7 separate regions of the Homo sapiens genome follow, and all the other regions are linked to region 1. The links are contacts of gene promoters, found by promoter capture Hi-C in blood cells and fetal thymus (Javierre and others, 2016). All regions are on one chromosome and are shown on one strand. The core of a region is centred on a gene start or on the middle of the fragment in contact, and the rest is flanking DNA. Distances in the headings are between cores, read along the strand shown. Region 1 holds the start of SRP68 (signal recognition particle 68). Region 2 has its middle 4.7 kb from the start of WBP2. Region 3 overlaps UBALD2 (UBA like domain containing 2). Region 4 holds the start of TRIM47 (tripartite motif containing 47). Region 5 overlaps LOC105371896 (a long non-coding RNA gene). Region 6 overlaps MRPL38 (mitochondrial ribosomal protein L38). Region 7 overlaps FBF1 (Fas binding factor 1).

The links. Contacts are between HindIII fragments. The CHiCAGO score rates a contact against its expected background, and 5 or more counts as called.
Region 2: a fragment that was not itself captured here is called in contact with the fragment with the promoter of SRP68 in region 1 in 1 of 17 cell types (endothelial precursors); the score reaches 5.5 in endothelial precursors.
Region 3: a fragment that was not itself captured here is called in contact with the fragment with the promoter of SRP68 in region 1 in 6 of 17 cell types (endothelial precursors, M1 macrophages, fetal thymus and 3 more); the score reaches 6.0 in endothelial precursors.
Region 4: a contact is called between the fragment with the promoter of TRIM47 here and the fragment with the promoter of SRP68 in region 1, in 9 of 17 cell types (fetal thymus, non-activated CD4 T cells, erythroblasts and 6 more). The highest score is 10.4, in fetal thymus.
Region 5: a fragment that was not itself captured here is called in contact with the fragment with the promoter of SRP68 in region 1 in 1 of 17 cell types (endothelial precursors); the score reaches 5.2 in endothelial precursors.
Region 6: a fragment that was not itself captured here is called in contact with the fragment with the promoter of SRP68 in region 1 in 1 of 17 cell types (endothelial precursors); the score reaches 6.5 in endothelial precursors.
Region 7: a contact is called between a fragment that was not itself captured here and the fragment with the promoter of SRP68 in region 1, in 3 of 17 cell types (endothelial precursors, erythroblasts and M1 macrophages). The highest score is 7.4, in endothelial precursors.

Annotation. Positions count from the first base shown.
Region 1 is chr17:76,071,225-76,073,835 of GRCh38, reverse strand. It overlaps SRP68 (signal recognition particle 68), which reads left to right and starts at 1,319. Exons shown (of 16, transcript NM_014230.4): 1 at 1,319-1,528. The coding sequence starts at 1,345. It also overlaps a transcript of GALR2 not described here. RefSeq lists enhancers at 377-1,204, 1,157-1,206, 1,205-2,032. The HindIII fragment of the contact is 7,541 bases long and covers 1-1,993 here.
Region 2 is chr17:75,858,735-75,861,345 of GRCh38, reverse strand. No RefSeq gene overlaps it. Among named protein-coding and RNA genes, the nearest start is that of WBP2, 4.7 kb to the right of the region's middle. The HindIII fragment of the contact is 2,337 bases long and covers 122-2,458 here.
Region 3 is chr17:76,269,861-76,272,471 of GRCh38, reverse strand. It overlaps UBALD2 (UBA like domain containing 2), which reads right to left. Exons shown (of 3, transcript NM_182565.4): 3 at 1,174-2,278. The coding sequence ends at 1,967. Among named protein-coding and RNA genes, the nearest start is that of UBALD2, 5.8 kb to the right of the region's middle. RefSeq lists enhancers at 1-9, 132-181, 10-534, 1,122-1,341, 2,222-2,411 and a silencer at 332-431. The HindIII fragment of the contact is 5,749 bases long and covers 1-2,611 here.
Region 4 is chr17:75,877,331-75,879,941 of GRCh38, reverse strand. It overlaps TRIM47 (tripartite motif containing 47), which reads left to right and starts at 1,361. Exons shown (of 6, transcript NM_033452.3): 1 at 1,361-2,068. The coding sequence starts at 1,394. It also overlaps a transcript of TRIM65 not described here. RefSeq lists silencers at 1,177-1,526, 1,657-2,036, 2,047-2,226 and enhancers at 1,071-1,986, 1,987-2,611. The HindIII fragment of the contact is 18,500 bases long and covers 1-2,611 here.
Region 5 is chr17:76,241,962-76,244,572 of GRCh38, reverse strand. It overlaps LOC105371896 (a long non-coding RNA gene), which reads left to right. Exons shown (of 6, transcript XR_007065913.1): 6 at 79-2,611. Among named protein-coding and RNA genes, the nearest start is that of RNF157, 2.8 kb to the right of the region's middle. The HindIII fragment of the contact is 3,783 bases long and covers 1-2,611 here.
Region 6 is chr17:75,899,573-75,902,183 of GRCh38, reverse strand. MRPL38 (mitochondrial ribosomal protein L38) reads left to right here. Exons shown (of 9, transcript NM_032478.4): 3 at 30-164; 4 at 264-472; 5 at 911-983; 6 at 1,157-1,202; 7 at 2,510-2,611. Among named protein-coding and RNA genes, the nearest start is that of TRIM65, 3.9 kb to the right of the region's middle. The HindIII fragment of the contact is 3,542 bases long and covers 1-2,611 here.
Region 7 is chr17:75,927,903-75,930,513 of GRCh38, reverse strand. It overlaps FBF1 (Fas binding factor 1), which reads left to right. Exons shown (of 30, transcript NM_001319193.2): 7 at 467-517; 8 at 2,321-2,438. Among named protein-coding and RNA genes, the nearest start is that of FBF1, 12 kb to the left of the region's middle. The HindIII fragment of the contact is 1,427 bases long and covers 592-2,018 here.

The DNA of each region.
Region 1 (2,611 bases), core at 70-2,569:
CGTTTTCCCTCCAATTCAATCCAATATACTGAGCATCTATTGTGTCAGGCTCTGTCTTTGGCTCCATGCCTCAGTTTCCTCAGCTGTAACAAGGAAATGGTAACACTTCCTTCTAAGAGGGATCTGCTGAGAAAGGAATGAGATGTATGGGAGAGTTAGTTAAATCTGAATGCATCAGATCCTTATTCTTTTTCTCCTGACCTTATTCCGTATACCTTGAGGAAATTCAAAATAGAGTTCAGGGCCGGGCGCGGTGGTTCACGCCTGTAATCCCAGCACTTTGGGAGGCCGAGGCGGGCGGATCACGAGGTCAGGAGATCGAGACCATCCTGACCAACATGGTGAAACCCCGTCTCCACTAAAAATACAAAAATTAGCGGGACGTGGTGGCAGGCGCCTGTAATCCCAGCTACTCGGGAGGCTGAGGCAGGAGAATGGCTTGAACCCAGGAGGCAGAGGTTGCAGTGAGCCGAGATCACACCATTGCACTCCAGCCTGGGCAACAAGAGCGAAACTCTATCTAAAAAAAAAAAAAAAATCCGTCATTTAATCTTCCTAACAACCACTTAAATTGGTTATCCCCATTTCATAGATGAAGGAACAGATTTACAGGGAGATTAAGTTACGTGCCCAACATGTCCCTGCCGCTAATGACGGAGCGGGGATTGGAATCCCAGGTCTCAGACTCTAGAAGGTGCAAAGCAAAAATTCATATTTTCCCATGTCTCAACACTTCTCCCTCTTTGGACTGACGGCCCCAAAGTGCAGTGGTCCACGGCCCCAAGCGGTCTGAGAAAGTCACCCCGTTAGGACACCGTCTGCTGACTGCGCAGCGCTTCCTCCGGCTTGGCGTTCTTACGGCCAGCCTCAGAGGAAAGGGCAGGCAGAGGCGGGTCCCTTACGGACGGGGTGTCCCGTTCCGGTAGGGAGGACCCCATCTCTTGAGTCCCTGGGGATGCAGACACCCCGAAATCCAGTATCTTTGGTCTCCTGCTTTCTGCTGGGCAGGACGTGAACCAGATCCCCAGTCCAGGATGCAGGACCTGGGGTCCACCTCCGGTTCTCCGCCCTTAGTGGGTGGGAGGTGGGACTGCCCCCTGAGATCTCAGCAGCCACGGTCTCACTGCGGCCTCAAGTCCCCACCTAGCCAGCCACAATTCCGGACCCGGGATGACAGGATCCCTCGCGCAGGCGCGCTCCAGCACATGGCGCCCTGCTGCAGCAAGGGCCGACGGCGGCGGAGTCCGCCGCTATCCCATCAGCCCGGCCAGGCAGGTCCAGCTCTCACCCGCCCAGGTCGTCCCGCCTCCCCTATCCCGTCTTGCTCTGCGGCGCAGGGGCAAGATGGCTGCTGAGAAGCAGGTCCCAGGCGGCGGCGGCGGCGGCGGCAGTGGCGGCGGCGGTGGCAGTGGCGGCGGCGGTAGCGGCGGTGGACGTGGTGCCGGAGGGGAAGAAAATAAAGAAAACGAACGCCCTTCGGCCGGATCGAAGGCAAACAAAGAATTTGGGGATAGCCTGAGTTTGGAGAGTATCCTAGAGTAATCGGGCCTAACTCGCAATGATTACGTGTCGAACTGGAGGGCTGGGGGCGGGAGAGGCGGCGGGTCCCGACAAGTCCTGGCAGGAGAGGCCGAGGGTTGCAGTTTCTCTCGCCCTTACCTTTTGGTGCTCAGAATTCCGGGGGGGGTCTGTCTCTCGACTAGTCTTTCCTCGTGTCCCCCTCGCCGTCCTGGCTAGGTCCGTTTCTTCCAGTGGCACTGGGATATCAGGCAGGTTTCCCCTGGTGCCCCGCAGTTGTCCAGTTGGAGGGCTTGTGACCAAGTGACACCTTGAGCACCTTGCTTTGGCACCTTGAGCCACTGAACTGGGGAGAGGAAACTGCAGTCTTGACATTTGGCTTAATACTCTTGTCTGACAGTCGTCATAGACTGAGTAGTAAAACCTACAGCTCGATACTTTGAAAGTGGAGGTAAAGATTGACTCAGGAAAAGCTTGTTGCCCATTTTGATTGTAAGTTACCGTAGTTAATATCGATTGTGTCATTTTTTTCTGATCGGTCTGTAGGCATTTTATCTTGCTGACAGTCATTCATATAAGCTGGAGGAATCGGTTTCTAGTTTCCATCAGTGTGTATCTCAACCAAGTGCTTGTGGTACTAGTTTGTGACCTTTTGAAATGAATAACAAATGGAGAAAACGTAGGCGAGTTTCTGAAATAACACATTCAACTTGACATCTTAATGTGCTTAAAGTTCTCAGGCGCTTGGAGTTAAATATTTTGAATTACTGGTAATAGTTCCAAGTAGACGCTAGCGAGCCCTGATTTTACTGAGACCTTTATATCTCTTTGTCCCGTTTTAGTAATTTAAAGAGTCCTTTTAGCGTTCACTATTTTAAAATATGTCTCTAGAGAAGTGTTGAGGAAACATTAAAACTATACCTATATAGATGAAGGTCATTGGACTTTCTAAAGATTAGTACATAATCTTAAATATTTTAAGATTATTAAAAGGAGAATCTGGCCATTCTTCTTTTGAAAGAAAAACCTTAATACTTTTATGCAAACTGTAGCCTAGCTTGGTTGACATGTGCTAATCATAGACTCTCTAAGC
Region 2 (2,611 bases), core at 41-2,540, 210 kb after region 1:
CAACCCTTGCAGAACCAGCTACCCTGAGCTCCCTTCAGAGGCACGGGCACCAGCACCAGCCGGCCCAGGCCCGCTCTTCAGAGGGCTGGGTTTTAGTACCCTGGGGCTCCTCTTTCAAGCTTCTGTATTATTGTTGATTTTGGTGTTTTGTTTTGTTTTTTGAGATGGGGGTCTCACTCTGTCACCCAGGCTGGAGTGCAATGGTGCGAACTCAGCTCACTGCAGCCTCTGCCTCCTGAGCGAAGCAATCCTCCCACCTCAGCCTCCTGAGTAGCTGGGACTACAGGTGCGCTCCACCACCCCCGGCTAACTTTTTGTATTTTTAGTAGAGATGGGGGCTTCACCATGTTGGCCAGGCTGGTCTCAAACTCCTGACCTCAAGTGTCCGCCGTGAGCCACCACGCCGGCAGCACTTTTTTTTTTTTTGAGTTTCACTCTTTTTGCCCAGGCTGGAGTGCAATGGCGCCATCTCGGCTCACTGCAACCTCCGTCTTCCAGATTCCAGCTATTCTCCTGCCTCAGCCTCCCGAGTAGCTGGGATTACAGGCTTGCGCCACCATGCCCGGCTAATTTTGTAGTTTTAGTAGAGACGGGGTTTCACCATGTTGGCCAGGCTGGTCTTGAACTCCTGACTCAGGTGATCTGCCCGCCTCGGCTTCCCAAAGTGCTGGGATTAGAGGTGCGAGCCACCGAGCCCGGCCCTTTCAGCAATTTTTTTTTTTTTTTTTGAGACGGAGTCTCACTCTGTCGCCGAGACTGGAGTGCAGTGGCTCGATCTCTGCTCACTGCAAGCTCCGCCTCCTGGGTTCACGCCATTCTCCTGCCTCAGCCTCCTGAGTAGCTGGGACTACAGGTGCTCACCACCACACCCGGCTAATTTTTTTGTATTTTTTTTTTTTAGTAGAGACAGGGTTTCACCGTGTTAGCCAGGATGGTCTTGATCTCCTGACCTCGTGATCTGCCTGCCTCGGCCTCCCAAAGTGCTGGATTTACAGGCGTCAGCAACTGCGCCCGGCTGCTTGCAGCAATTTTTTAAGATGACAAAATAAAACAGAAAATTTCAGAATATATCCCACTACAAAATACAAATTAAGCAGCATGTGGTGGTGGCAGGGCCTGTACTCTCAGCTACTTGGGAGGCTGAGGCAGGACCACTGCTTGATGCCAGGAGTTCAAGACCATCCTGGGCAACATAATGGAACCCCATCTCTACCAAAAAAATTTTTTAAACTAGCCAGGCATGGTGATGTGCACTTGTAGTCCCAGCTACTTAGGAGGCTGACGTAAAAAGATTGCTTGAGCCCGGGAGGTTGAAGGTGCAGTAAGCCATGACTGCACCACTCCAGCCTGAGTGACAATGTAAGACAGGGTCTCGCTCTGTCACCCAGGCTGGTCTCAAACTCCTGGGCTCAAGCCCTATATATTTTTACTGTGGGTCAAGGTAAGGAAAAACAGCCACCGTTTGGTAAATGCTGCCAACCTTTTTTTTTTTTTTTTTTTTTAAATTTTTAGAGGGAGGGTCTCACTATGTTGCCCAGGATGGTCTTAAACTCCTGGGCTGAAGCAATCCTCCTGCCTCAGTCTTCCAAAATGCTGGGATTACAGGCATGAGCCACCTCTACGGGCCTGCCAACCTCTTTTATGTCATGGCACACACAGAAAATGATTTGTTCAGTGAAAATGGTATTTATTTGGCTCACTGGGGCAAACAGATTCATCTTATTGGGAGTCAAGAGGCGACCAGGCGGGGGCGGTGGCTCATACCTGTAATCCTAACACTTTCGGGAGTGTTAGGTGGGCGGATGACTTGAGGTCAGGAATTTGAGACCAGCTTGGCCAACATGGTGAAACCCCATCTCTACTAAAAATACAAAGATTAGCTGGGCGTGGTGGCACGATTCTGTAGTCCCAGCTACTCTGGAGGCTGAGGCATGAGAATTGCTTGAACCCGGGAGGCGGAGGCTGCAGTGAGCAGAGATCATGTCAATGCACTCCACCCCAGGAGACGGGCAAGACCCTGTATCAAAAATAAATACATAAATAATAAATAAAATTATAAACAGAAAAAACAGGTGACCAGTTCAGGGGCTCAGCTGCCCCAGACCTTGCCTGCTGGTATCTGAGGCCAACCTGCACTCCTCCTTAGCGCACCGCTAAGATGTGCTCCAGTGTGGAGAATATGAGCATCATACTGCAGTGAAAAAGAGATCTGGAGACAGGCAGACAGGAGTATGAGGCCAGAGGAGAGGTCTGAGTACTGAGACCTGGGCCCAGGGGAGCCTCCTGCTGCTCACCTGGTTCAGCAATAAACCATTGTTGAAGTCTTCGGTTTGAGTTTTGAGTTCTGGTACGTTCCAGCCCCAAAGTCATGGGAGCCGCCCAGGAAGTGTGTTCACATGGTCATATGTTTTTGTAAAACTTAGAAATTCTGGACATTGTAGCCGGAGCTGGTCAAGCTTGTTATCTCTGCACTGCAACTTCCTCTTCTTGTCATTTCCCCTCCTGTCAGGAGGCCTCACTGTAGCCACAGTATTGTGAATGAATAATTGTGGGGTTGTTTTTTTTTTTTGAGTTAGAGCTTTCCTCTCGTTGCCCAGGCTGGAGTGCAGTG
Region 3 (2,611 bases), core at 52-2,551, 200 kb before region 1:
TAAGCCGGCCAGGGCAACCCCCGACCATTCCCGCACCTGGGCATGGCCCACACCTGGGTGGACCCCGGTGCAGGCCCAGGAGGCCTGGGGACGTCACAGCCTAACCACCCACGTGCTGAGAGGGGCTGCCCCTTCCAGCCTGGGAAAGCACAGGTGGGCAGGGGCGGGGGGAGGGGGAGGAGTCTCAGGGGTTTCCAACCAGGAAACAAAACTGAAAGGACGAACCCAGCTTCCAAGCACGTCCGTGTCACACGCAGGGGTGGAGGGGCAGCGGGGCCCACCGTTCCGCTCCACTGGAGGAGGGGCTGCCCCACCGTGTGAGGGGCCCGAGGAGGCCCGGAGGCAGGATGCGGTGGGTGCCGGGCCCGGCCCCTCTCGACTTTTATTTCACTTCCGGCCTGAACCTCCAGAACCCTTGTCCTGCCTGTGTTCCAGCAAGACTTGGGCCCCGTAGACCCCAGCAGAGGGCGAGGCAGGAGGACGGGACAGGAAGGGGCTGCCCAGACTGTATGGCGGTGAAGGGCAGGGCTGGAGGAGGAATCCCAGCCACGCGGCCATCACCCCCATCAGCCAGGTGGACAGGCTCCCCACGCAGCTGACCTCCCGAGCAGCAGGACCACCTGAGGACGAGCTGCTGGGTCAGGAACTGGTAACCTCGCCCCATGCTGACGCCTGCAGGGCTGCGGGGAAGGGGGAATGGAAGCAGGCCCCTCTGGGGACCCGCCAGCCTTAATTGAACTTTGGGTCATGGCCACTCCACAGGCCATGACCCAAAGGGACATACTGCCCCCGGGAAGCTGAGGAGAGGAGTATCGGAGATGAGCCCAGCTGGAAGATGCTTCCTGGGAGGGCCTGGGGGGGCCATCAGGAGGCCCCCAGCTAGAAGGAAGCTCTCCCCACTGTAGATGAAAATGGCTTCCAGCTCTTCTCACTAGGGCTCTGTGGGTGGGGGCTACACCGATGGGGCCAAGAAGGGAAGGTCACAGAAACTCAGGACGGACCCCGGCCCCTCTCTCCTCCCCACACCAACCTGGACCTTGCTGTCAGAGCCCCTGGTGTGACCATCCCACAGCAAAAACATCCAGACCAGCCCAGTGGCAAGGGACCCCCACCACCCCTCTTCTGAGGAGACCGCTTTTCCCACCAACGGAAATAAAAGCACCGCAAACCAGGGAAGTTAGAAAAGTCTCTTTTTAAGTTTTTAAATTAAAATTTCGCCCTGGTGAGATGGGATTCTGATTCGGGAACTAAACCCAAAGGCAGGCTCTCCACTTTGGACCTGGACACGCAGCGGGAGGGGCAGGGCGCCCAGGGCAGTCAAGTCCCCTGCTGGGCAGAGCCTGGCCTTTGACCAAAGTCAGCTCCTCAGTGCCACATCAGCCCTGCACATTCAGCAGGAGACAGGGGTGATGAGCTATGGGGCCACAACCAGCAATCAGAGGTGGGGAAGAGGCCATGGGGAGAGAGCCCTGATACCAAGAGGGCCTTCCACAGCTTTGACCTCAGGCCCTCCTGGGACCTGCAGCTGCTATGTGGCTGCCCAGTGACTGCAGGAGTGGTGTCCTCTTCCAGATTCCAGAAGGCATGGCTGTTAAAGGAGGCAGCTGACAGATGCCTTGTGCCCACAACATCACTCCATCAGCTCTGCAGCATGGCAGCCCTACCCCCGAGCACCCCAGGTGTGCCAGGCCCATTCTCACGCACATTAGTTATATTTATCTATTCATATATATTATAGTTATATATTAAAAACAGAGGAAAAACTTGCCTGAAAAACTCCTGAAGGACCCACGTGGCCCAGGAAGTTTACTGTCCCCCCGACCCACAAAAATTCTTTTATAAAATCTTCCAGTGCGATCTTCGGGAAACCCCCTGCCCTCCCCGGCTCCCCCCTCCCTGGCCCTCCTGTGTCCCCACAACCCTGGGCTGCCCCCAGCTCCAGCCCAGCGCCCGGCGGCGTCCAGTCTCATCTCTGGCCGTCCATGGCCGCCATGGCTTTCTGCTGGGCGCCCCCCTGCTGTGCTCCTGGGGGCCACGTGGGCTGTGGGCGGTGGAGGTGGTGGAAGGTGGTGGGGGAGGAGGGCGGGATCCAGGGCGCCTGGTGGCTGGGCGGGGACGAGGCCCAGAAGGGGCTGAAGTTTGCAGGTGGGGAGCAGGCTGCGGCTGTCATGGGGCTGTTGCTGCTCTGCAGGCCCTCGGAGGCGCGGAGCTTGGAGAACATGGCCAGCGCATCGGGGAAGTTGGGCGGCGTGGCAGGGGTGTTGCTGGGAGTGCACATCTGCGGGAGAGAACACGGGTGTGGGGAGGCTGCCTCGGGGGTCCCCGAGCCACTGGATGGGGCTTACCCAGGCCAGCCGCTCCTTTACTCCCATTTTTCAGCTTCATTCATTTTCGCACAAGCAGCTTCCACAGGACAAAAGTGCCCTCTCCCCGAGGCAATACAAACAGAAAACAAGGACAAAACCCAAGAACCTTATCAAAACCAACGGGGTTTCATGAGGCCTGGAAATGACACCCCGAGGAGCATTCAAAGTAAATGGTTAATTGCACCCAGGAGCTAAGGTGTCAGATTAAAGTGAAAGGGCAAGGGGGCAGCCCAGGACACCACTGT
Region 4 (2,611 bases), core at 112-2,611, 190 kb after region 1:
TCTCTACTAAAAATACAAAAATTAGCCAAATGTGGTGGCGGGCGCCTGTAATCCCAGCTACTCAAGAGTCCGAGGAGGGAGAATCGCTTGAACCCAGGAGACAGAGGTTGCAGTGAGCTGAGATTGCGCCACTGCACTCCAGCCTGGGCGACAAGAGCGAAACTCCATCTAAAAAAATAAAAATAAAAAAACATTATTTGGAATTTTCAATGCGAAATATGTCTGTTCTCCCCAGCTTGTTAATTTATTATTTATTTATATCGGCATGGACTCATAGATGTTTATTTTACACTTTGGGTTATAATCAGTGCTACTTTACTTATTTTGTTGTCATTCTGGTGTAGTGTTTTAACTTAACATTATTGAGATATAACTCATACAATAAAACGCACCACTTTAAGTGCATAATTAGATGAGCTTTAAATACTTCCAGTTGGGGAACCCCCAACCCCACCACAGGTGTCCCCAGTGTCCAGGGGCCAGAACTACATTCCTCAGACAAGGGACTTAGGGAATGACGTCAACTTCCCATTTCAGGTCTAGAAAAGTCCAAGTTCCCTACTTGGGGTAAAGAGTCGCTAAAGGAGCTGGGCGCTGTGGCTCACGCCTGTAATCCCAGCACTTTGGGAGGCCGAGGCAGGTGGATCACCTGAGGTCACGAGTTCAAGACCAGCCTGGACAAGGTGAAACTCCGTCTCTACAAAAAAATACAAAAATTTGCCTGGTGTGGTGGCAAGCGCCTATAATTCCAGCTACTTGGGAGGCTAAGGCAGGAGAATCACTTGAATCCGGGAGGCGGAGGTTGCAGTGAGCCGAGATAGCGCCCCTGCACTCCAGCCTGGGCGACAAGAGAGGAACTCTGTCTCAAAAAAAAAAAAAAAAAGAGTCGCTAAGGGGCAAAAACATATGTACATCAGCAGTTATTTTTCTCTGCAGTCAGCAGCTCAGGAACTTTGCTAAGGGTGCCAGGGAGGGGTCGAGCGCAAAGGTGCAGGCATGACACAGCTAGACGCGCCCAGCCCCTGCGGAGCGCTGGCCTGGCCCAGAAGGACCAGAGGGATGGAGGCTGAGTCCTTCCCATTCCTTCCACTGTACCTCTCGCGTTCTCCGCCCGCGCTCACTCAGTTTCACACCCTTTCAGCAGCGCCCTTCCTTAGGACCACGCGGACTCCCCTGGGGGTCGCGCGGGCTCGGAGGCCTCCCTGCGTTGTCTGGGCGGGGACTGGGAGTCCGCGGGCCCGCAGGCGGGCGGTGCTGCGGGGCGGGCCGAGCTGGGGGCGGGCGGGGGCCGGAGCCCTGGCCTAGGTCCCAGGGGGAGGTGCCGCGGCGCGAACGGCCCGGGTCCCTCCCAGGCCGGAGCACAATCGGCGGCGCCCTGGGCGGCCGCGGAGTCATGGACGGCAGTGGACCCTTCAGCTGCCCCATCTGCCTAGAGCCACTCCGGGAGCCGGTGACGCTGCCCTGCGGCCACAACTTCTGTCTCGCCTGCCTGGGCGCGCTCTGGCCGCATCGTGGCGCGAGTGGAGCCGGCGGACCCGGAGGCGCGGCCCGCTGCCCGCTGTGCCAGGAGCCCTTCCCCGACGGCCTTCAGCTCCGCAAGAACCACACGCTGTCCGAGCTGCTGCAGCTCCGCCAGGGCTCGGGCCCCGGGTCCGGCCCCGGCCCGGCCCCTGCCCTGGCCCCGGAGCCCTCGGCACCCAGCGCGCTGCCCAGTGTCCCGGAGCCGTCGGCCCCCTGCGCTCCCGAGCCGTGGCCCGCGGGCGAAGAGCCAGTGCGCTGCGACGCGTGCCCCGAGGGCGCGGCCCTGCCCGCCGCGCTGTCCTGCCTCTCCTGCCTCGCCTCCTTTTGCCCCGCGCACCTGGGCCCGCACGAGCGCAGCCCCGCCCTCCGCGGACACCGCCTGGTGCCGCCGCTGCGCCGGCTAGAGGAGAGCCTGTGCCCGCGCCACCTACGGCCGCTCGAGCGCTACTGCCGCGCGGAGCGCGTGTGTCTGTGCGAGGCCTGCGCCGCACAGGAGCACCGCGGCCACGAGCTGGTGCCGCTGGAGCAGGAGCGCGCGCTTCAGGAGGTGGGCTCCGGGGGCACACTCGGGTGAGCCGGGGCTGGTGACCGACCGCGCGCGAGCGGGCCGAGGACCTTGGACCCCCCAGTCTTCCCGGGTTGGGTCTTAATCTCCTCCTCTAACCTGAGGATCTTTGCGGTCCCTTCCAGCCTTGACAAGGTCATCTGCTGGCGGTGATGGAGATGGGAAGGGAGGAAGGAGGGACGTGAGAACAGGACAAGGACGCGAAGAGCGGGCAGGGGACCTGAAGCCGGGCCGGGGTCTATGGGGGTGTAGGCGGGAGGGAGCCGGGTTAGGCCCGCGGGGTTCCGGTAGCGTGGCTGCTGCTCCCGCCCGGAGGGTCACGCCGGTCTCAGCTCAGATTTGCCCTGGGCTGAGGCAGCAGCTTTCGATGGGTGTGGCAGGCGGCAGGAGGGCGGCAGAGGGCGACCGGGCACACAGATTCTCTGTCCAGCTGTTCCGGGGGCCAGTGGTGGGAGCATGTGAGCCGCGGCCTCTACCTCCCGCCCCCAGTTTCCTTTGGCCTCCAGCCCGGTCTTGGCGCCTCTG
Region 5 (2,611 bases), core at 78-2,577, 170 kb before region 1:
TAACTTGAAAAATAGATTAATAGGCTACAAACTGGACTGGAGTCTGCATCCATTTGAACAACTCTTCTTTATTGGCAGCCCAGAGTGGAGGACGAAATTAACAATGAGGAATTCACACTCAGCAAAAAGCAAAATATGAAAGCCTGATTGCGGATTTCCTAATGGACAAGATTATTTTCCTCTACAGAGAGCCTTAGGTTGCCAGAGGAACCATCTGCAGGGCCCCAAAGCATTTAGGATCAGACTATTCTGTCGACGTTAGCCTAGCCCACTGATCTGGAGCAGGATGTGACATTCTCCGCTGGTGGTTTTGGCTTCAATCCACCGAAGCCACATGTCGAGGACTAAAAGAGGGATCGGGCCCATGTGTGGCTGATTGGGCCCTATCTTCTGGAGAGAGCTGGTACTCATTAAGAACAGCCAAGATTCTCATCTTCCTGTCCCAAAATCAGAGACCTTTCTTAGCTCTTTCAGGTCACCTGAGATACTGGTTTGCCTCCCAAACCCTGCTGCCTCAGGAATGCTGTGCTGCAGGGCTGTGTCTGTCAGTTTCCACCTGCAGGCTCCCTCACTCCTTCCTGCACTAAGCTAATCATTGCATGTGTTACAAGGGTGGAAATGGCACATCTGGGCTGAAACCAGGACAGCAACATGAACAAAATGAAAAGTCCAAAGGGACAAGCTCACCTAAAAATTACTTGTCCCCGTACTTCCCCCACCCTTCTCCTTTCTCCCTTAGACCCAAGTTGCAGAAGAAGAGCTTCAATGTGATAGAAATACCTGGCTTTGCCCCTTGCCTTCCAGGGATGTTTAGAGAAAACCGCTGAGACCCTTGGATGTTGTGTTGTCTGCTGGGATTCTCCCAAGGGCTGCATCCATAGTGTGGAAATGGATAGGGTGCTACAAGGCTATTTCCACAAAGCACGTGTGGTATTTGCATGTGATTTCCCTATGCACACTGTGCAACCCCTCCCCAGACCATTTTTCAAGTTAAAAACATTTTTATGGCTCTCTTGGTGCAGTCACTTCTGGATTTTTCCTCCTATCTGAGCTGCCTTCTCCCTCGGGCACTCTCCCTGGCCCAGATCTTTGGCGAGGGAGCCAAGTGGAGCCAGGGAAGAACCATAGAGGAATGCAGGACTCAGCCCCTCTAGAGTCGGCTGCTCCGAGGGTCTAGCTGCTTATCTCGCCTTTGCCCAGGGCACTGGCTGAGATTCTATTTCCAAAATTGTTCACACTAGGTGATTACACTGTAGACTGTGGGACTGTAGCTCAATTCACAAAAAGTCTCTTTGATCTAGAAGTTTCTAAACTGCCTTCTATCCGTTTCTCTTCTGTCTCTGGTCAACATTCTTTTAAAAATGAGTCTTGGCTGGGTGTGGTGGCTCACGCCTTTAATCCCACCACTTTGGGAGACCAAGGCGAGCGGATCACCTGTGGTCAGGAGTTGGAGACCAGCCTGGACAACATGGTGAAACTCCATCTCTACTAAAAATACAAAAGTTAGCCGGGCGTGGTGGCGGGCGCCTGTAGTCCCAGTTACTCAGGACGCTGAGGCAGGAGAATCACTTGAACCCGGAAGGTGGAGGTTGCAGTGAGCCGAGATCACACCATTGCACTCCAACCTAGGCAGCAGAGTGAGGCTCTGTCTCAAAAACAAAACAAAACAAAAGAGTCTTGATTCACTTATTGCATCTTTGCAATAACCATTGGAGACTGGGCTATTTTCAGAGGAGGAAACGGAGACCGTTTCTAAGGGCTTAAGTCAAAGTTACATAGCTGCTTAGGGGTTTGATTTGTCCAACTCAAAGTCTAGTGCTCTTTCTGTGCCTCATTCTCTTCGACTGTAAAATCGGGGTGTAAATAGCATGTATTTGATAGGGTTGTTGGGAGGGTTGAATGCTTTAATACGTGTGAAGTGTTTAAAACAGCCTGGCACATAGAGTGTTCCATAAATATCCACTAATTTTATTGTGCTATGCCTTGTTTTTCTTTACTATTCTAAGCATTGGACTCATGACTCCTTCGTGGGAGGAGGAACCAACTTCTAGGCTTGGGGAGTATTATTCAAGATGGAGAAGCTGGCTTCCCAGGGTCAGGCCAAGGTGGGACCAGAAGAGACACCCCATAAGCAACAGGACTGGGCTGCTTGACTAAGCCACATCCCTGCCTGGCCCTGGCTAAGCAGAAGAAACTCTCAGACATGGATAAACCCACAAAGGGAAGGGATGTCCCGTTTACAAAATGCCGAGGGCAGGAAGAACCAAGGCTTCTGAACAGAGCCGAGGAGCATAAGGCAACATTTTACTCTGTGATGTGTCGAAGGCCTTGTGTTTTGAGGTGGTTCTAGATTCTTATTTGCATTTTACCTTTACCCAGCAGTTACAAGGTAGGGCCTGTGTGTGCTGAAAGGAGTATGGAGGAGGACACCAGTTCCCTCCCACAGGGATGACTGAAAGCCCTGGAGTAGTTAGGACCAGGGACTCTGCCAGAGAGCTCTGGTGCTTGGGAGAAGCTGCCGGGGCAGGGACTTGCCCTGTAACCCAAGCCTTCGTTAGCAGCAGCCAATATAAATGACAGGGATGTGTTCCCACCATCCTGAGGACCCTGG
Region 6 (2,611 bases), core at 79-2,578, 170 kb after region 1:
TGTTTTTCCCACACATCTTCCCACTCCAGATCCCAAAGAGAAGATTGATATTGGGCTGCCTCCACCCAAAGTCTCCCGGACCCAACAGCTACTGGAACGGAAACAGGCCATCCAGGAGCTTCGGGCCAATGTGGAAGAGGAGCGGGCTGCCCGCCTCCGCACAGGTAAGCCTTCTCAGGGGAGGGGCCATCCCAGAGTTGGGGTACAGGGTGTGTCCCTGCCCCCCCCACCCCCGTATCCCAACTGGCCTTATTCCTGTCTAGCCAGTGTCCCGCTGGATGCCGTGCGGGCCGAGTGGGAGAGGACCTGTGGCCCCTACCACAAGCAGCGTCTGGCTGAGTATTACGGCCTCTACCGAGACCTGTTCCACGGTGCCACCTTTGTGCCCCGAGTCCCCCTGCACGTGGCCTACGCTGTGGGTGAGGATGACCTGATGCCTGTGTACTGTGGCAATGAGGTGACTCCAACCGAGGTAACCACTCACTTGTGCCCCTCCTCCCTGCCCTGTGCAAACACAGACACATCCCATCTCAGTGTCACAGACACTCCTGGGTTTGGAATTTTGTTGTTCTCTGTCTCTTTGATTTCCTGGAAGACGACACCATGACAATTTCAAAGAAAATAGAACAAAATGAAGGAAAAAGAGGCTCTGTCTTAGCACATTCCTGTGACCAGCCTGCTGTCTGTGGTGTGCCCTCCTGGCCCGGCCTTGGCACATGTTCGTTTTTGTGGTTGTTGCCTGGACAGGCAACTCTGCAGGGCTGCTTCTCTACGCATCCCTTTGCCTGCCTGCCTGTGCCAGGGGTTGTCAAGGGCTTTTGGGTCAGAGTGGGCACCCCTTTCTCCAAGGCTCCCTGCAACAGCTGGCCTGTCCCTGGTGGGGCTGACAGCTTCCTTCTCACCCTGCCAGGCTGCCCAAGCGCCAGAGGTGACCTATGAGGCAGAAGAGGGCTCCTTGTGGACGTTGCTACTCACTAGCTTGGGTGGGTGTCTGGGGCTCACCAGGCCTCCTGCCCCGCTCACCTCCTATGAGCCAGGGCCCTGGGGGGCTGGGGGAGGGGCCAGGTGGAGATCTCCAGCGCTGGCTCCTAACAAGGGAGGGGGTGGCAGGGCCGTGGTCGGCTGGGCCGTGGTCAGCAGGTGTGTTTTTGTGCAGATGGGCACCTGCTGGAGCCAGATGCTGAGTACCTCCACTGGCTGCTGTGAGTACTGGAGTACTGGGGGTAGGGGGTGCTGCCCAGGCGGGAAGAGGAGCTGGGAGCCTGGACTGAGCTGCTCCTGAGTTTCATGGACTACCCATGGGACCTTGAATTCACCTGCCACCTCTGCCTCCTGAGGGTGTTAGGGGCCCTGGGATCCACGTGTCTACTTGAAGACAGCTACAGGAGACAAAGTTTGCAGTAGGCCTCGGTCAGTCCCCACAAGCCTCCTCATCTTTTCTTTTCTTTTTTTTTTTTTTTTTTGAGACAGGGTCTCACTCTGTCCCCCAGGCTGGAGTACAGTGGTGCAATCATGGCTAATTGCAGCCGCTAACTCCTGGGCTCAGGTGCTCTTCCCACCTCAGTCTCCTGAGTAGCTGGGACTACAGGTGCAAACCACTACACCCAGCTAATTTTTGTATTTTTTTATAGAGACAGGGTTTCACCATGTTGCCCAGGCTGGTCTCCTGAGCTCAAGCGATCTGCCCGCCTCCGCCTCCCAAAGTGCTAGGATTATAAGCGTGAGCCACCATGCCTGGGCCCTTCGTCTCTAAACTCATTTCTTCACCTGTAAAACTGGGATAATGGCACCACATGCCTTACTCAGCGTGAGGTGGACTGTGACAGTCACGTGGGAGAAGGAGCGGGAGAGGCCTAGCAGCTGTGGCGTCCCCCAGGTGCTCCTTGAACCACTGGGCGCTCCTTCCCTGGGCCCAGACTGGGCGGCCTTCCATCTTGGTAGCTTTTGGCTCTGAACACCAGGCCAGGGGGCAGAGGTCAGGCCAGTGACCCCAACTTTGAGCCTTCTGGTTAACTGGGGACAGTGACTGGGAGGCTGGTTTCCGTCATTTTTATTCAACTGTTACCAGCCTATGCGGCAGGACCCTCTGGGGATTTGTGCCTGAGGCGTTGGCCGCCCCTGTGCCAGGCTGGGCACACACTCCCTGACGAGGTCCTGGAGACTTCAGGACGCAGAGGGAAAAGCAGCCAAAAGTGGCCTGGCTTTCTAGCCTCAGTGACTGTGGCGGACCCACCGGCTCCCGGGGCCTGGAAGCGGCTGCATGGCCTTGCTGTCAAGCTGATGCTCTCTGGAGCCCTGTCCCCCACTCGGAGCTCCTCCAGCCCGCTTCCCGTATTTGCAGCATGTCCCGGCGTTCACAGAGCTTGGCTGCCTCCTCTGTCCCAGGAGAGAGATGCTTAGAGCTGTCCTCCCAGGGAGTCATGTCAGCCTCTAGGGTGTGCATGGAGCTGAGGGGACACTCCTGCTGCCTCCCTGGAGTGGTAATTAACCGGGACTTTCCTCCTCCCAGAACCAACATCCCGGGTAACCGGGTGGCTGAAGGACAGGTGACGTGTCCCTACCTCCCCCCCTTCCCTGCCCGAGGCTCCGGCATCCACCGTCTTGCCTTCCT
Region 7 (2,611 bases), core at 56-2,555, 140 kb after region 1:
TGCTGGGATTACAGGCGTGAGCCACTGTAAATAATGCCCAAGGGCTGCCGAGTGGACCCAAAGCAGAATCCTCTTTCCTGTAGTAAGATGAGTGGAAAGGAGAGCTCCCTGAAACTGCTAGAGTCTTAGATGTTGCTCCTTTCCCCTTATAAACTCCATAGCTGTCCATTGGCATGGGTGGGAAGTAGCAGAATTTCAGTCCTGGATGGAAGAGTTCTCTATGGTTGGAAGGAGTAGGAATGGCAGTGCTCTCTGAGTCTCTAAAACCAGGCAGGTTTGGCTTCAAACAACTGCCAAGCCCAAGCAAGGGGAACAAAGCCACCCTCCTGTGTAAGCTCCATTGGCCAAGCTCTGCTCCTGCCGCGCCGTCTGCCCTAACAGAAGCAAGGGGCCAGGACCCTGAGTTTTATTGGGCCTTGACTAATGTGCCTCCTCATCTGTGTCCTCACCCTCATTGTGGACTTAGGTTTCAGGTATCTCAGAGGCAGACCCACAGGCTCTGCTCCAGGCCATGAAGGTAAGGAAACAGCTTGCACGATTCTTAGAACTGGGGGTGGGTGGGGTGGGGTCATGATATTTTGTACCAAAGCTTCATTCTCCTTCTAATTTCTCCCTTTACAACCTGTGTTTCTGAGCCCTTCCTCGTGCAAGCATGGAACTCGTCTGTGAGCCGTTGGCCTCCTTGCCTTTCTGAGTATCAACCAGTGTTCCTGGTATATAGAGAGTGGAGAGTGCCACAGGCCTCTGGGGAAACGGGGCCAGCTCTACTCGGAGGCCCACCTAGCTGGGTCCCCTCACCTCCACCTAGAAGACAGAGGGGGAGACTCTTTCCTCTAATGCTTGTTCTTAATCTTTCTCCATATTTCTCTCCACATCCCCTGCCAAGCCCCCTTCAATACTGCTGTCTTCTCATCAGATCAAGCCCAGCGCCAATCTTTGCAATGGATTTTTAAGGCACAGATTCTGAATAATTTGTAAGGACATAATCTCTAGCTTGGCCTAAGACACCTTGTTCTCCCTCTCCTTCCAGCCAGCAGCACCTTCCTGTCTGACCCTTGGGGTTTTGTGTCCCTTTTAGTTAACCCATTTTGCCACAGTCCCTAGGACAAAGCCGCGTTTTTGGTTACAGCCCTGTGGGGCTCTTGTTTTTGTTGTGTATTTTTGTTTTTTGGGTTTTTTTTTAGAGACACCATCGCATTCTATCACCCAGGCTGGAGTGCAGTGGTGTGATCTCATTGCAACCTTAAACTCCTGGCCTTAAGCGATTCTCTTACCTTGGCCTCCCAAAATACTGTAATTACAGGCATGAGGCACCACACCCGGTCCAGATTCAGCTTCTTTAATCTCATCTTGAAATCTTTCTCCTCAAAGGCCAGGCACCTGTAATCCCAGAACTTTGGGAGGCCGAGGCAGTAGGCTCGCTTGAGCCTAGGAGTTGGAGGCTGCAATGAGCTATGATCACACCACTGCACTACAGCCTGGGTGGTGACAGAGTGAGACTCTGTCTTCAAAAAAAAAAAAAAAGTCTGGCATGGTGGCTTACTCCTGTAATGCCAGCACTTTGGGAGGCCATGGCAGGTGGATCACTTGAGCTCAGAAGTTGGAGGCTGCAATGAGCTATGATCGCACCACTTCACTCCAGCCTGGGTGACAGAGTGAGACTCTGTCTTTATTTTATTTTATTTTTAATTTATTTTTATTTTTTTGAGACGGAGTCTTGCTCTGTTGCCTAGGCTGGAGTGCAGTGGCATGATCTCGGCTCACTGCAACCTCCACCTCCCAGGTTCAAGCGATTCTCCTACCTCAGCCTCCCAAGTAGCTGGGATTACAGGCGTGCACCACCACACCCAACTAATTTTTGTATTTTTTGTAGAGACAGGGTTTCATCATGTTGGCCAGGATGGTCTCGATTTCTTGACCTGGTGATCCACCTGCCTCGGCCCAAAGTGCTGGGATTCTAGGCATGAGCCACCGCGCCCGGCCAATATCCTGTCTAAAAAAAGAAAAAAAAGAAAGCTTTTTTCCCGAGACCAGCCACCTAGGATCCCTGGGCATAACCCACAAGTCCTCTGACTCAATTTTTGGTGCTGACTTTGAGTCTCTCATCCCAGAACCATGAGCTGGACTCCATTCCACCTCCCCCTGCTTACCTTTAGTTCCATTTTCTTTCTTCACTCACTGTTTTTCTCAACAGTTTTCTCATTTTCCTTTGTTTTCTCACAATTCTACACCTGGGGTGCCAACAGCCCATCTCTCTCAGGTGGAAGTCCTCAGCCCCTTATCAGACATAGTCCTCTGCCCTCCCTCCCTGGTTTTCTAGGACCTGGACGGCATGGATGCTGATATCTTAGGTCTGAAGAAATCTAATTCAGCCCCTAGCAAAAAAGCTGCAAAGGACCCTGGGAAAGGAGAGCTGCCCAACCACCCCAAGCCTGCAGGTGGGTCAGTAGCCAGTGAGAAAGGTGCATGGGAGACGGCTCCTCGCATCTGCTAGGGAGACTTTGAGGACGTGGAAGATGCTAGTAGGAAGCGTTCATGTCCTTGGGTTTTCTCTGCACAGGATGGAGAGGCCAAGGAGCATTTGTGCGTGTGTGTGTTTGAGTGTGTGTGG